Linked DNA regions of Homo sapiens: region 1 is linked to region 2. Evidence: promoter capture Hi-C in 16 types of primary human blood cells and fetal thymus (Javierre and others, 2016). All regions are on one chromosome and are shown on one strand. The core of a region is centred on a gene start or on the middle of the fragment in contact, and the rest is flanking DNA. Distances in the headings are between cores, read along the strand shown. Region 1 has its middle 110 kb from the start of LINC02123. Region 2 holds the start of CFAP90 (cilia and flagella associated protein 90).

Region 1 (6,051 bases), core at 154-2,653, 610 kb before region 2:
ACACAGAGATCCCACGTATCCTTTACCCAGCTTCTCCCAATGGGAACATCTTGAAAAAGTACACTACACTTTCATGTTCAAGATGTTGACATTGCTGGGCGTGGTGTCTCACGCCTGTAATCCCAGCACTTTGGGAGGCCGAGGCGGGTGGATCACTTGAGGTCAGGAGTTCGAGACCAGCCTGACCAACATGGTGAAACTCCGTCTCTACTAAAAATACAAAAATTAGCTGGACATGGTGGCAGGCGCCTATAATCCCAGCTATTCGGGTGGATCACTTGAGGTCAGGAGTTCGAGACCAGCCTGACCAACATGGTGAAACTCCGTCTCTACTGAAAGTATAAAAATTAGCTGGGCGTGGTGGCAGGCGCCTATAATCCCAGCTACTCGGGAAGCTGAGGCAGAATTGCTTGAACCTGGGAGGTGGAGGTTGCCATGAACCAAGTTCACGCCATTGCACTCCAGCCTGGACAAGAGTGAAACTCCATCTCAAAAATAATAATAATAAAAAAGATGTTGACATTGACATGATCCACCCGTCTTAGGTCTCCCAGTTTTCTCTGCATGTGTGCGTGCGCACACGTGCGTGTGTGTAGTTGTATATAATGTTATTAGATGTGCAGGTTCACATATCCACCACCAGTCAAGATTCAGAACCGTTTCATCTGAACACCAAAAAAAAAAAAAAGCTATTTTTTAATTGAGGTAAAACATGCACATGTCTTTTACCATCTTTACCATTTTTAAATGTACAGTTCAGTTGTAGGTAATAAATAGATTTATATTCGTTTTATCCCTTTCATCCTCCTCCCCTTCCCAGCCTCTGGTAACCACCAATCTACTCTCTATCTTCATGAGATCCATGTTTTAGCTCCCATGTATGAGTGAGAACATGCAATATTTGTTTTTCTGTGCTTGGTTTATTTCACTTAACATAATGGCCCTCAGTTCCATCCATGTTGCAAATGACAGGATATCATTCTTTGAATGGCTAAATAATATTTTACCTAGTTATCGGGTAAAATATTCACTTCAGTTTGCTTTTTCAAAATAGTTGTAGCTGTTCTAGGACCTTGCCTTCCTGTGTGACAATCAATTGATTTATCTGTTGGTCTATCTATCGCTCGTGAGCCCTATCTGTCTATTTTTAACTAAAGCATTTTAATCAGTGGCTCAGGATACATGAGGGTGTAATTCACACTACATGTCTTTGTCTTCTGTAACTATTATCTTGCTTCCTTGTTTTATGCCTCATGTGCACATTCTTCAAAAACATTCACTTAATTGGAAACTAAAGGGCATTCGCCTCTAAGCTTTGACAGCAGTGACCTTAGCTAAGTCAATGCTTAGGGTCTTTGAATTCATAGGAAGACTCCTATGAGTCAAGATTTTGAACATGATAGAAATGACATTTTTAATTCAAATATTTAGTTGTTCACAGCACCTTTATTTAGTAAGTGACACACTCAGATAAGACTATATTTTAAGCAACATAAGCTTACTTAGAAATAATATAAATGGACTTTTTCATGTTATATATTCTATTCCTGATGACCATAATCTCTTGCACCCTGGCAGAGATTTTATGAAACAGAAACCAAGTTTGACCCTAAAGATTAATAACACATGCAGCAATTGAAAGTTAGCTGCAAAGAAATAGAGAAAAGTATAATAAATATATATCTGTATTCCTTAAAACCCAGTGGAACTGAGAGGAAGAGAGAACATAATAGAGTAGCCTGAAAATACATTTTTGCTGAGTAAATTTTCCATCATCCAGGATAAAAAATATATATTCTCATTCATATTCTTCCAAGGCCATACATTTTATAATTTGCAGTGATGCAATATTCCAGAAAATGCTCCCATAACTATTGTTGTAAGCAATACAAGTAGGATATGATTTTTAAGGTTTAAAATAAGTGAACTGTTAATTTTCTGTTACTAAGTCACCTCTCCTAAACTTCTTGATTCTTTAGGAAATGGACTGAGTTTTGAAAAAATGTAATCGGCCACAATTAACTCTGTGTGTGTGTGTGTGTGTGTGTGTGTGTGTGTGTGTGTGTTTCCAGATTTAAAGTTAGAATATATTAAAAAGCTAGACAATATTAAAGCTAGATTATGTTAAGCTGAGAAACAGACAGAACATTGTTTTCCTAGAGAACTCATATATTTAGATGGCTGAAAACAGATTATTTTATAACAGATTATTAACTAGTTACTATTATTCAGATATGACAGACTCAATCTTCTATATATCTTAAGAAAAAACTTGTGACCACATATCAAGTAAGCATTTTAAATATAGGATGAATCTTTTTAGGTAAACAGTGAAAACTTAGCCTGGAGCTGTATCCACACCACAGCACATGTTTTGGAATGAAGTCAGCGGGGATAGCTGGGCAGGATGAGCTGTTTCTTTGCATTAGCATCGTGAGTCCCTCACGGCCAGCATGTTGCCATCACTTTTGCTTTTCTCGCCCCCAGAGTAGAACTACAAATAATAGAAGATATTAAATGCCTATGGTTTGCACAGAGCCATCCTGGATTGGTGGGAACAAGTAGCCATTGGGGTCAGACAAACATGCATAATGTCTGTATCAAACAAGGCAGAAGTTGCCAAGTTCCAAAGGACAAGCACGACGTGGCAGGGCACTCATGGGAAGCAGAGGCTACCAGTGATTGAGGAGGGGCAGGAAGAGTCTAATGGAAGAAGAGCCATGTTCACCCAATTCTGAATGTGTTTTGGCAGATAAAGAAGTAGGTCCTGGCCGCTTAAAGAAAAAAAAAAAAGGAAGAAGGAATCTTCAATAATAGCTCCAGCAGAGAGAAAGCCATTAGCGGGCTGAGAGCCAGGAGAACTGTGCTGTGAAAACGAACAATAAGAAAAGGCACTGGATTCAGCCACTTTGAGGAATAGCTCCAAAGAGAAGTGAGGGCCCACATTAATTCAATAAGTAGAAGTTTTCAATTTTTACTCCAACATATGTTTCTTGAGCGCCCATTGCATGTTAATCGTTGGGATAGAGTAGAGACAGCGAGCCCTTCTGCTCTGCCTTCCGGAACCTTGTAGTTTGGTGGTTGAGGCAGATGACAGGATCTGCGAGGGGTAATTAAGGAGAAGAGCCAGAGGCCACAGAAGGTGATAGTGAGGGGTCTCATTTGAGCCACATGGGCCACTGAGTGCTTTGATGCTAGGGCTGGTGTGATCCAGGTCACTCCAGTGGACTGGGGTGCGCAAGAATGGAAGGGGGGCACCCAGGATGCTCACAGCAATCCAGGCAAGATGAGAGAATGCCAGAGAGAGAGGCAACTTCGTATATTGAAGGTAGACTTTGGAGATGATTGGTAAATCTTAGCAATGCACGTGAGAGGGTGGGAGAGATTTCTGGGTACGGAGCCTGAGCAGCTAGGGGTGCCATTCTCTGCAAAAGAGATGGCTAAAAAAGGAGCAGTTTGGGGCAGGAAAGAAAATAACAGTAATACTGGAAATAATAAGCAAATCAGGTAAGACCTACCTGGAAGCATTTTTTTTTTTTTTCTGAGCAGTTGGTATCTGTTGTCTCCCTACAACCCCACAGCATCTCCATTTTGCAAAAGAGAAAACTGAAGACAAAGAGGATAGGCAAATGACCTAAGGTCACACACGAGCAGGACAGCCAGATGGCCACCCAGGACATCTGAATTTGTTTTAGGAAACAATGTCTTTGAGATGCATGTGGGAAATGCACATGGAAAGACATAAACATGAGACCCTTCCACATGAGCCAGGAGCTCAGAAGGTGATCTTCACTGCAGACAGACTATTGGCAATCTCTGGTATAAGGAGAAGGCATTTATTGAAGAGTGAGTGAAAGCTGAGTACAAGAGGCAGATATTACAGTGTCTTCTTTCAAGCAGAAAAGGAAAGAAGAGATGAGACGCATCCACAGGGAGTAAGGGAAGGTGGTTCAAGGACAGGGCAGATTAGACAAGATCCCCCTCCACTTCCACAAAGACAGTGGAAGATGCAAGGGTATCATCGAGCTGGAGCCTGAGGACTGCAGAGCATGGAGGGGTGAGGCCGTTGGCTGGGGGCACAGTGAGTGAGGCAGCAGGAGGAAGCTTTAGTCCCAGGCTAGTGTCACCCAGTGCAGGTGGAAGCCGCAGAAGAATCATGGCACAGATGCTCTGAAGAACATCTCAGACTAAGTGAGCACTCTACAAACACAAACTCAGACAAGACCTGCAGCAAACAACAATAAGGAACATCTTCCCCTACTTCATAAGTGAGAGGCATGAGAGCAGGCATCATACATTTGCACTCAAAGCTGTTTCATATTTTCTGAGGATGGTTCCAAGCAGATCTCTCTCTTTACTTCCACAGAAGAAGAAAAATAAATAAATTTCTGATAAGCTGAATTCTAGCAGAGTGTGGGAGAAAGGATGTTTTTTGAAATATTGGGAATAAAAAATATCTATTGCAACCCACGGTCATTAGTTTGTGTGTTTACTTTGGGGACTCTACATAGATATCCTTATGGCTTGAAGTAAGAATGGGATTGAGCCGTTTATTAAGTGCCTGGCTATTTGAGTTTCCAGGAGGAATAACGGCCTATCTAATGTAATGTGCTGGAAGTGGATCCCACATCAGCTGAGGTCAGGAGACCAGAGCACAGTCAATGGGCCCATGGGGAACACTGGGCACTGCACTGTGGACTCCTCCTGTGGTCTTGCGCTGCAGCAAGACCTGATCTCTGGACTCTGATCTTGTGCTACAAAACCTGATGACATCCCATTTCCAACCCCACTTCCTTCTCCTGGGCAGACAAATAAGGCAATTCTCAGTTTCCCCTGCAGCTCTGCTGGGGCTGTGTGATTGAATTCTGGACAACAGAATCTGAATAGATGTAATAGAAGCCAATTTTTAGGTGTGACCATAAGCCCCATTTCCCAGATATCCTCTTTGTCTCTCCCCATTTGCATAGCTGGAAGTCAAGAAGTCCAATATTTCAAAGGAGCACACGAAGCGGGATGGCTGAGTTACAGTTATTTTTTACAACAGGTAAAATCATGCATTTTTCATTAACTGTTCTGCCAATGCTGAAAGTTAAAGTTAAGGACAGCAAGCCCAGAAGCAAGGAGCAGGGGGAGGCTGGGGGATCCAGGGACGGAGGCTGGAGAGCATGGGCAGGTTGGAAAGTCTCAGAGGAGGGAAAATCAGCTGGGATTGCAGCTTGAAGGGTGTGGGAAAGGTTAAGTGCCTCTCAGGGATTTTTTGTATGAAACATTAATTGCTTTCTGATTGTAAAAGGAATACCAGTTCATCACACAGGATTTGGAAGACAATAAAGATATAAAGAAGAAAAATGAAAGCATTGATAAGATCATTACTGAATAGCCACTACCAAGATTTGGTAGTATTTGCTTCAAACATACATGAGCACTGGGAGCTCTCCTGGGGTGGTTTGCAATAACCTGCTTTGCAACCCTAACTGTCTGTGAGTAATGGCATGAGTGTACAGGAGCGTTAATTACCTCCACAGTTGGTGGGTAACATCCTGAGTGCTTGCAGGAATACCTGCTGTTGGTATGACCAGAGGTCAATTGTCTCTTGTAATAAATCAGGTAGATAGACATTCTAGAAAGCATTTTACTTTACTGAGACACAAAATTCAAATTCCTTGCTGTGTAACTCTGCCAGCCTGAGAATTATTGCTGGCTGTTAATTATTCTTTGTATTGTATTTGAGACACAAGAAATTGTTGAAGTGACTTACTGTTTATAATTAGAAGCTATGATTAAAACTGCTTTAACATTACCCTGGGGCCCTCTCTCCAACATGAAATGATTTCTATAAAAGTGTCAGTGGGTGGTTTGGAAGGGAAATGTTGGCCTCCTCCCTGGTAACTACTTTTCCACCTACAGAGCTGCTCCGATGTCATGGGAAGTCTCCTCAAAGCCCCAGCTCTGGTAATTAAATGAAACACAACCATCCTACACCACAATGGCTGGGCACTCTCCCACGGAATATCCAAAGAAGACAGGAATGAGAAGAATCAGCCATCAATT
Region 2 (6,240 bases), core at 412-2,911:
ACCTGTCCCAGTTACGCCTGCAGGCTGAGGGTCCTCAATGAATGCTCCTTTTCAGTAATGACTCCCCTGCCCCTGCATCTTGAGCAAGACAAACCGGGGACATTTAGGAACAATGGTGAGAAGAAAGGAGTAGATGACCCTCAACTGGCTTTGAATTTACTACTTTTCCTGCCTTTGGCCGCTGGTGGGAGATGCAGGGTGCCCAGTGGCCTTCGCAGACTCGCAGATCCCATCCCAGGAAATGCACGGGCCGGTGTGGCCAGGACAGAACAGAGGGACCACTCTCAGTCCAGCCCTCCCTGCAGGCGGCTCGCCAGCTATTCCTTCTGGTCTTCGGTTTGCAGGAGGGCAGAGGGTTTCCCGCGCCCTGGACCATCCGGGCGTAGTCCCGGCAGCAAGGCCTTCTTTCCTTGCTAGCCTGGGCCTGCCGCAGACAGACCCCAGAGGGAGCCGCGCCCAGCCCGCTGGGCGGCCCCGGCTTCCCGCGACCCCCTCCAGACCCTGGGCAGAAAGAGCGCCCTGCTGTCCCGACAGAGCCACTGTGCTTTTGAGGGATCCTGACACCTAGTGGCTCCCGCTCCCTTCTCCGAAGAGCACCGGGTCCTATCTGAGCATTCCCGCGACTCCCAGCCCCTGATCGCAGCTAAGACACCCATTCGCGCACCCGGCTTCTCCCACATCCTCGTCCCAGGGGTTCAGCTGACACTGGTAGTCGCCTGAGCTGTACTCTTTGGGGCCCAGGCGCCTTGGCGGGAGCTCACCCTCCCTGTCTCCCCAGCTGACCCTGCCGCGCCCCCTTCATCTCCGCACGCTCCCACCCGGCCCCCTCCACAGGCTGTCCAGCCCCGCCCCTCGGAACCCACCCCTGGTAGTGAAGCCCTGCCCCCAGGGTCCCTGCCCGAAGGTGCGCTCCTCCTCTAGGGCCCCTCTACTCTGTGAGCTCTGTCCCCGATCCCTAGCGGTGCAGCCCCTCCCAGGGCCCCTCCTCGTTGTGAGCTCCTCTCTCCAGTCCCCGGCGGCGCATCCCTGCCCCCAGGCCCCCTCCCCTAAGGTGAACCCTGCCCCAAGGCCCCAGTCCCTAAGGTGAACCCCGCCCCCAGGCTGCCTCCCCTAAGGTAACCCCGCCCCCAGGCCCCCTCCCCTAAGGTGAGCCCCGCCCCTAGGCCCCCGCCCCTAAGGTGAGCCCCGCCCCCAGGCCCCTTTCCCTAAGGTGAACCCCGCCCCTACGCCCTCCCTCCGAGGGAGAGCCCCGCCCCAAGACCCTTCCGCTGGGGTGATCCCTTCTCCCCCGCCCCTCCGCGGCCGCCCGCCCCTGCCCAGCCGCCCAGCCGCCCAGCCGCCCAGCCGCCCAGCCGCCCAGCCGCCCAGCCTTCCGGTCTCCGCGCCCAGTCCGCGGTCCTCACCCGCGCCGGGCGGTAGTAGTAGCTGTGCTCTTTGGGGTCCAGGCGCCGCGGCGGGATGTAGCTGAAGGCGGACTGCGCCGAGACGGGCGGCGGCCTGGGCTTGCCCCGCAGCGTGGACGCGGTGGTCTCCTCCTCGTCGTCCTCCATGCCGCCACCGTCCAGCGCCCCCGCCTTGGCCGCGGTCCGTCCCGCCCGCCCAGGGGCCCAGTCGGAGTCTGCAGGCCTCAGGTTGCTCAGCGCCAGCGTCTAGCCCGCGTCTGTGTTCGGTCGTTGCCTGGAAACCGCCGCCTGGCGACCCGGAGCTGCCCTGCAGCATTCCCGCTCCAGGGTGGAGCGACCCTCCCCTCCTCCCTCCCGGCCCCTCGACTACACCTGGGGTCTCTCCTTCCTTCCTCCTCGGGAGGAGCCCGACTGGGAGACGCCGCGGGGACTACCCATTTCCAGCCCGCTCACCTTTCCCATGCAGCAGCCCCTGCTTCACTCACTGATCACTCCTTCGCGAGACCATTAGTGACTGAGCACCTAGCGCATGGTGTGTCAGGAGCTGGAGATTGAGCCTTGAACGGAGCAGGCCTTGTCCACAGGAAGCTTACAGTCTGGAGAAGACACATGAAAGACGCGAAGAAGCCAAATGACTTGCCGAGGCTCCAGGGCAGCGCTGTCCAATAGAAACATGATGAGAGCCACGTGTGTCGTTTCTTATTTGACTCAGTAAGTCCAAAACGTTATCATTTCAACAAATGGCACTAGCTGCCTTTCAAGCTCTCGGTGGCCACGTGTGGCTAGCAGTTACAGTATTGGCCAGTGCAGGTGTAAGGCTGCATGAATTTACAGAATCTGGCAGAACTCAGCTGCTGTGGACAGGGCTCTTGCAATCCTTTGCCAGTGTGTTTACGTTGGCCCTTGATCTGAATGCTGGGTCAATACCTGCGTTCCGTTTGTTGAAAATGTGTTAAGCTGTATACTCGTGATTGGTGGGTGTACAGCCAAGAAAAGTTAAAAACAAACAAACAAAAAAAGCCATGATGACCAAGGCTTGGGAAATGCTTTAGCCAGCGTGCCTGGGAAGGCCAGCCTTGCTGAGAAGGTGGTGTTTGAGATGAAGCATAGCGATAATGAGAAGCCAGTTCTGTGAGTCTGGCAATCCCTTCCAAGCCAACTTGGTCCTCTGAGGCAGAGACAATCTTGTGTTTGAATGGCAGCAGGAAGTGGGGTGGTGTGGCCTCATGAAGCCAGAAACTGGTAGGAAGTGAAGGTGAACAGATAGGTGGGGGCCTGATGGAGAGATCTTACAGATGATGGAAGGAGCAGTGCCCTGCCTTCTTCCCCATCCCTGCAACTAGGTAGGAATCTCTTGTCTGCCATTCTGTGATGCAGGCTGGTGGCTTAAGATGCCTCTCTCATTCTGAGGCACCTGGTGATCCACTCTGTAGAGGTCTCCAGAGTTCTAGAGATCCTTCTGGGCAGGATTTAAGACATCCCGGTGCCACCACGCTTTTTCTCTCTCTTTTTATTTATATCTGTCTCTCTCGTGGGTCCCCATGAGCTTCCTGAGAAACCCATGTGCCTTCTTTGTCCCACTAACACATCTTTTTGCTCCATGGCCAGGCAGAACACAAGTCAGCCATGAGTCAAGGGTCAGACACCTGCCCACCATGTCTCTAAGCCCCAGGGGACCTAGCAACCTCATTGGAGCCACTTGGAGAGGGTGACATATCCCTGGTGCTTGGAGATGGAGCACCATCTCTCCTACATGTGAAGCAAAGGAAAAGGGGCTCTTATTTTTCTCCCATGGGCTGAAGTCATGAAAGGCATGACTCATACTTTTTTGCTTTTTTGGCCTCATTAAAGCAGCAGCCAAATATGTTTTTTTTTTTTAAGCCCTTATAATCTACTGCCTCTCTCAACTTCTCTCAATGTCTCCAAATACACAAGAGAGGTCAACTAATGGTCACAAGATTTTGTAAGCTTTGCATTGGTGACCCAGTATCATACTTTGGAAAGTGAAAGTACTTGAAACCAATTATCTTGGGAATTCAGCTAAAACTGAGACCGAGATAATTTCTTAGTAAAAGAAATTAGTAAAGTTTACACAGTTATACAGATGTGAATCTGCTAACTTCAGTTCAGTCGGTGACATTTTGTCATGTCCTAGACCAAGAGCTCTTGAGGGCAAGGCTACCTACATCTTTTTCTTCTTGGATGGAGATATGGTTAGGCTTTGTGTCCCCACCTTAATCTCATCTTGAATTGTAATCCCCATAATCCCCACATGTCAAAGGAGTGACCAAGTGGAGATAATTGAATCCTGGGGGCCATTTCCCCCATGCTGTTCTTGTGATAGTGAATTCTCACAGGATCTGATGGTTTTATAAGGGGCTCCTCCCCTTTTGTTCAGTGCTTCTCCTTCCTGCCACCTTGTGAAGAAGGTGCCTTGCTTCCCCTTTGCTTTCTGCCGTGATTGTAAGTTTCCTGAGGCCACCCCAGCCATACTGAACTGTGAGACAATTAAAACTCTTTCCTTTATGAATTACCCAGTCTCAGGTATTTCTTTATAGCAGCATGAGAACAAACTTATACAGATGGCTCAAGTCAGGCATACAGGCATACAGTAGGAAGTCAAATATTTGAGTCTGAGACAAGGGCCTGAGTTTATTTGGGAGGTAATTCCAGGGAACAGGAGAGAGGGACCAAGAGGAGCAAGAAGCAGGAGAGACACCAAGGATGCACTACCCAGGTCACTGCTGAAGGCAACTGGTGAATGGTCATGAACCTTTCTGAGGGGCCTGGAGAGGCCTTGAAGAATTGCCCCAGAGGATCAACATGGAGGCATGTTTCATCACTTGCTCCTGTCTGCTCGGTGGAGGCTCGCTCCTTCAGTTGTTGACTCCTGAACTTGTACGACCACTGCCCCAGGGCCTCACAGTCTCCCCTGGAGTGTCTTGCCTCCTTGGTGTCCGAGGAGCCCTAGGGCTGACAGCAAAAGACAGGGGCATGTACTGGAGGTGAGATGCTTCTTTCATGAGGTGAGTCATAGCCCCACGGAATGGTCCACCAGAGATGAGGGTGGAATGAGATGTGAGGCCCTGAGGATGCAGGGCAGGTTACCAGAGACAGATGAAACCATGGGCAAGGCAGACTTTGGCAATTTTGATTATTAAGAGGCTTTAGTTCCTTTTTTAAAAATACTCTTTTTAAAAAAGTATTTTCCTATATGATCTTATTATATATTCCCAGGTACATGAGTGGAATACAAGGTCACAGAGTCATACATTTAGGCTCCTCATGTCTGTACTCGTACTCAAAAGTTCTGTGCCGGAGAAGGGGAGGATGAAAGAAGCATAAAAACCCTCCTCTCAAAGGAGGCAAATTAATAGAGTAAGGACACACACTGGGGCTGGGTTAAACATAGTGTATTAGTGAGGGTTCCCTCAAGGGACAGAACTAATAGGATGTATATATATATCTATGTAAAGATATATATTATATATATTTTTTTATATGGGAGTTTATTAAGGAGTATTAACTCACGTGATCACAAGTTCCCTGTATTAGTTCGTTTTCACTCTGCTGATAAAGACATACCCAAGACTGGGATGAAAAGAGGTTTAATTGGACTTAGAGTTCCACATGGCTAGGGAGGCCTCAGAATCATGGCAGGAGATGAAAGGCACTCCTTACATGGTGGCGGCAAGAGAAAATGAGGAAGATGCAAAAGCGGAAACCCCTGATAAAACTATCAGATCTCATGAGACTTATTCCCTACCACGAGAATATGGGGGAACCACCCCCATGATTCAAGCTATCTCCCTCCGGGTCTCTCCCACAACACATGAGAATTATGGAGATTTGGGTCGGGACGTAGAGCCAAACCATATCAGTCCTACAATCGGCCACCTGCAAGCTGAGGAGCAAGGAGGCCAGTCTGAGTCCCAGAGCTGAAGAACTTGGAGTTTGATGTTCAAGGGCAGGAAGCATCTAGCACGGGAGAAAGAGGTAGGCTGGGAGGCTAAGCCAGTCTAGTCTTTCACCTTCTTCTGCCTGCTTTTATATTCTGGCATCATTCCCAAGGCATTCAAGCCAAATTGAAGCAAGTCTCTGGATCTGCCCTTTGGTTTAATAGGAAATGCAGCAGATAGATATAGAAACAAGTTAGACAACACCAAATCAACAGTGTGGGACATTCTACAGGGCAATTGATCTAATTTCTCCAATAACTTAATGACATGAAAACTACGTGAGAAAGAGTAGCAGTTAGAGACATAAGAGACTTCAGTGGTAGAATCTCTAAAAGTCATACGTGGACTTTGGATCCTGATTCAAAAACATCAACAGTTAAAAAATATTTTTGAGATAGTACAGGAAATTTAGAATATAGACTACACATTAAATGATGACAGGGAATAATAACTAATTTTGTTATTTGTAACAATGGCTGAATGATTAGATAAAAAAAGAAAAAAAGCTTATCAATTATAGATGAATACTGAAGTATTTAGGATAAAATAATATGATAGCTTGGATTTCTCTAGAAACATTCCAGTGGAAAAAAAAAAAAGAAAAAGTTAAAGAATAGATGAAACATGATTGGAAAATTATGGTAATTTTCATGCTGAATAGAGGAACTTGCAAACTTATACTTTTTTTTTTAGAGATGGGGTTTTGCTCTGCCACTCAGGCTGGAGAGCAGTGGCGTGATCATAGCTCCTGGCCTCAAGTAATCCTCCTGCCGTGGCCTCCCAAAGCACTGGGAATACAACATGAGCCACTGAGCCAGCTTTTCTTTCAATTCTTATACTTTTCTTTCAATTCTTATGTGTGTTCAAAATTTCCTGTA

What was found. Contacts are between HindIII fragments. The CHiCAGO score rates a contact against its expected background, and 5 or more counts as called.
Region 1: a fragment that was not itself captured here is called in contact with the fragment with the promoter of CFAP90 in region 2 in 2 of 17 cell types (M1 macrophages and M2 macrophages); the score reaches 5.7 in M1 macrophages.

Annotation. Positions count from the first base shown.
Region 1 is chr5:7,239,688-7,245,738 of GRCh38, forward strand. No RefSeq gene overlaps it. Among named protein-coding and RNA genes, the nearest start is that of LINC02123, 110 kb to the right of the region's middle. The HindIII fragment of the contact is 184 bases long and covers 1,312-1,495 here.
Region 2 is chr5:7,849,472-7,855,711 of GRCh38, forward strand. CFAP90 (cilia and flagella associated protein 90) reads right to left here and starts at 1,662. Exons shown (of 3, transcript NM_001089584.3): 1 at 1,404-1,662. The coding sequence starts at 1,550. It also overlaps a transcript of MTRR not described here. The HindIII fragment of the contact is 6,768 bases long and covers 1-1,989 here.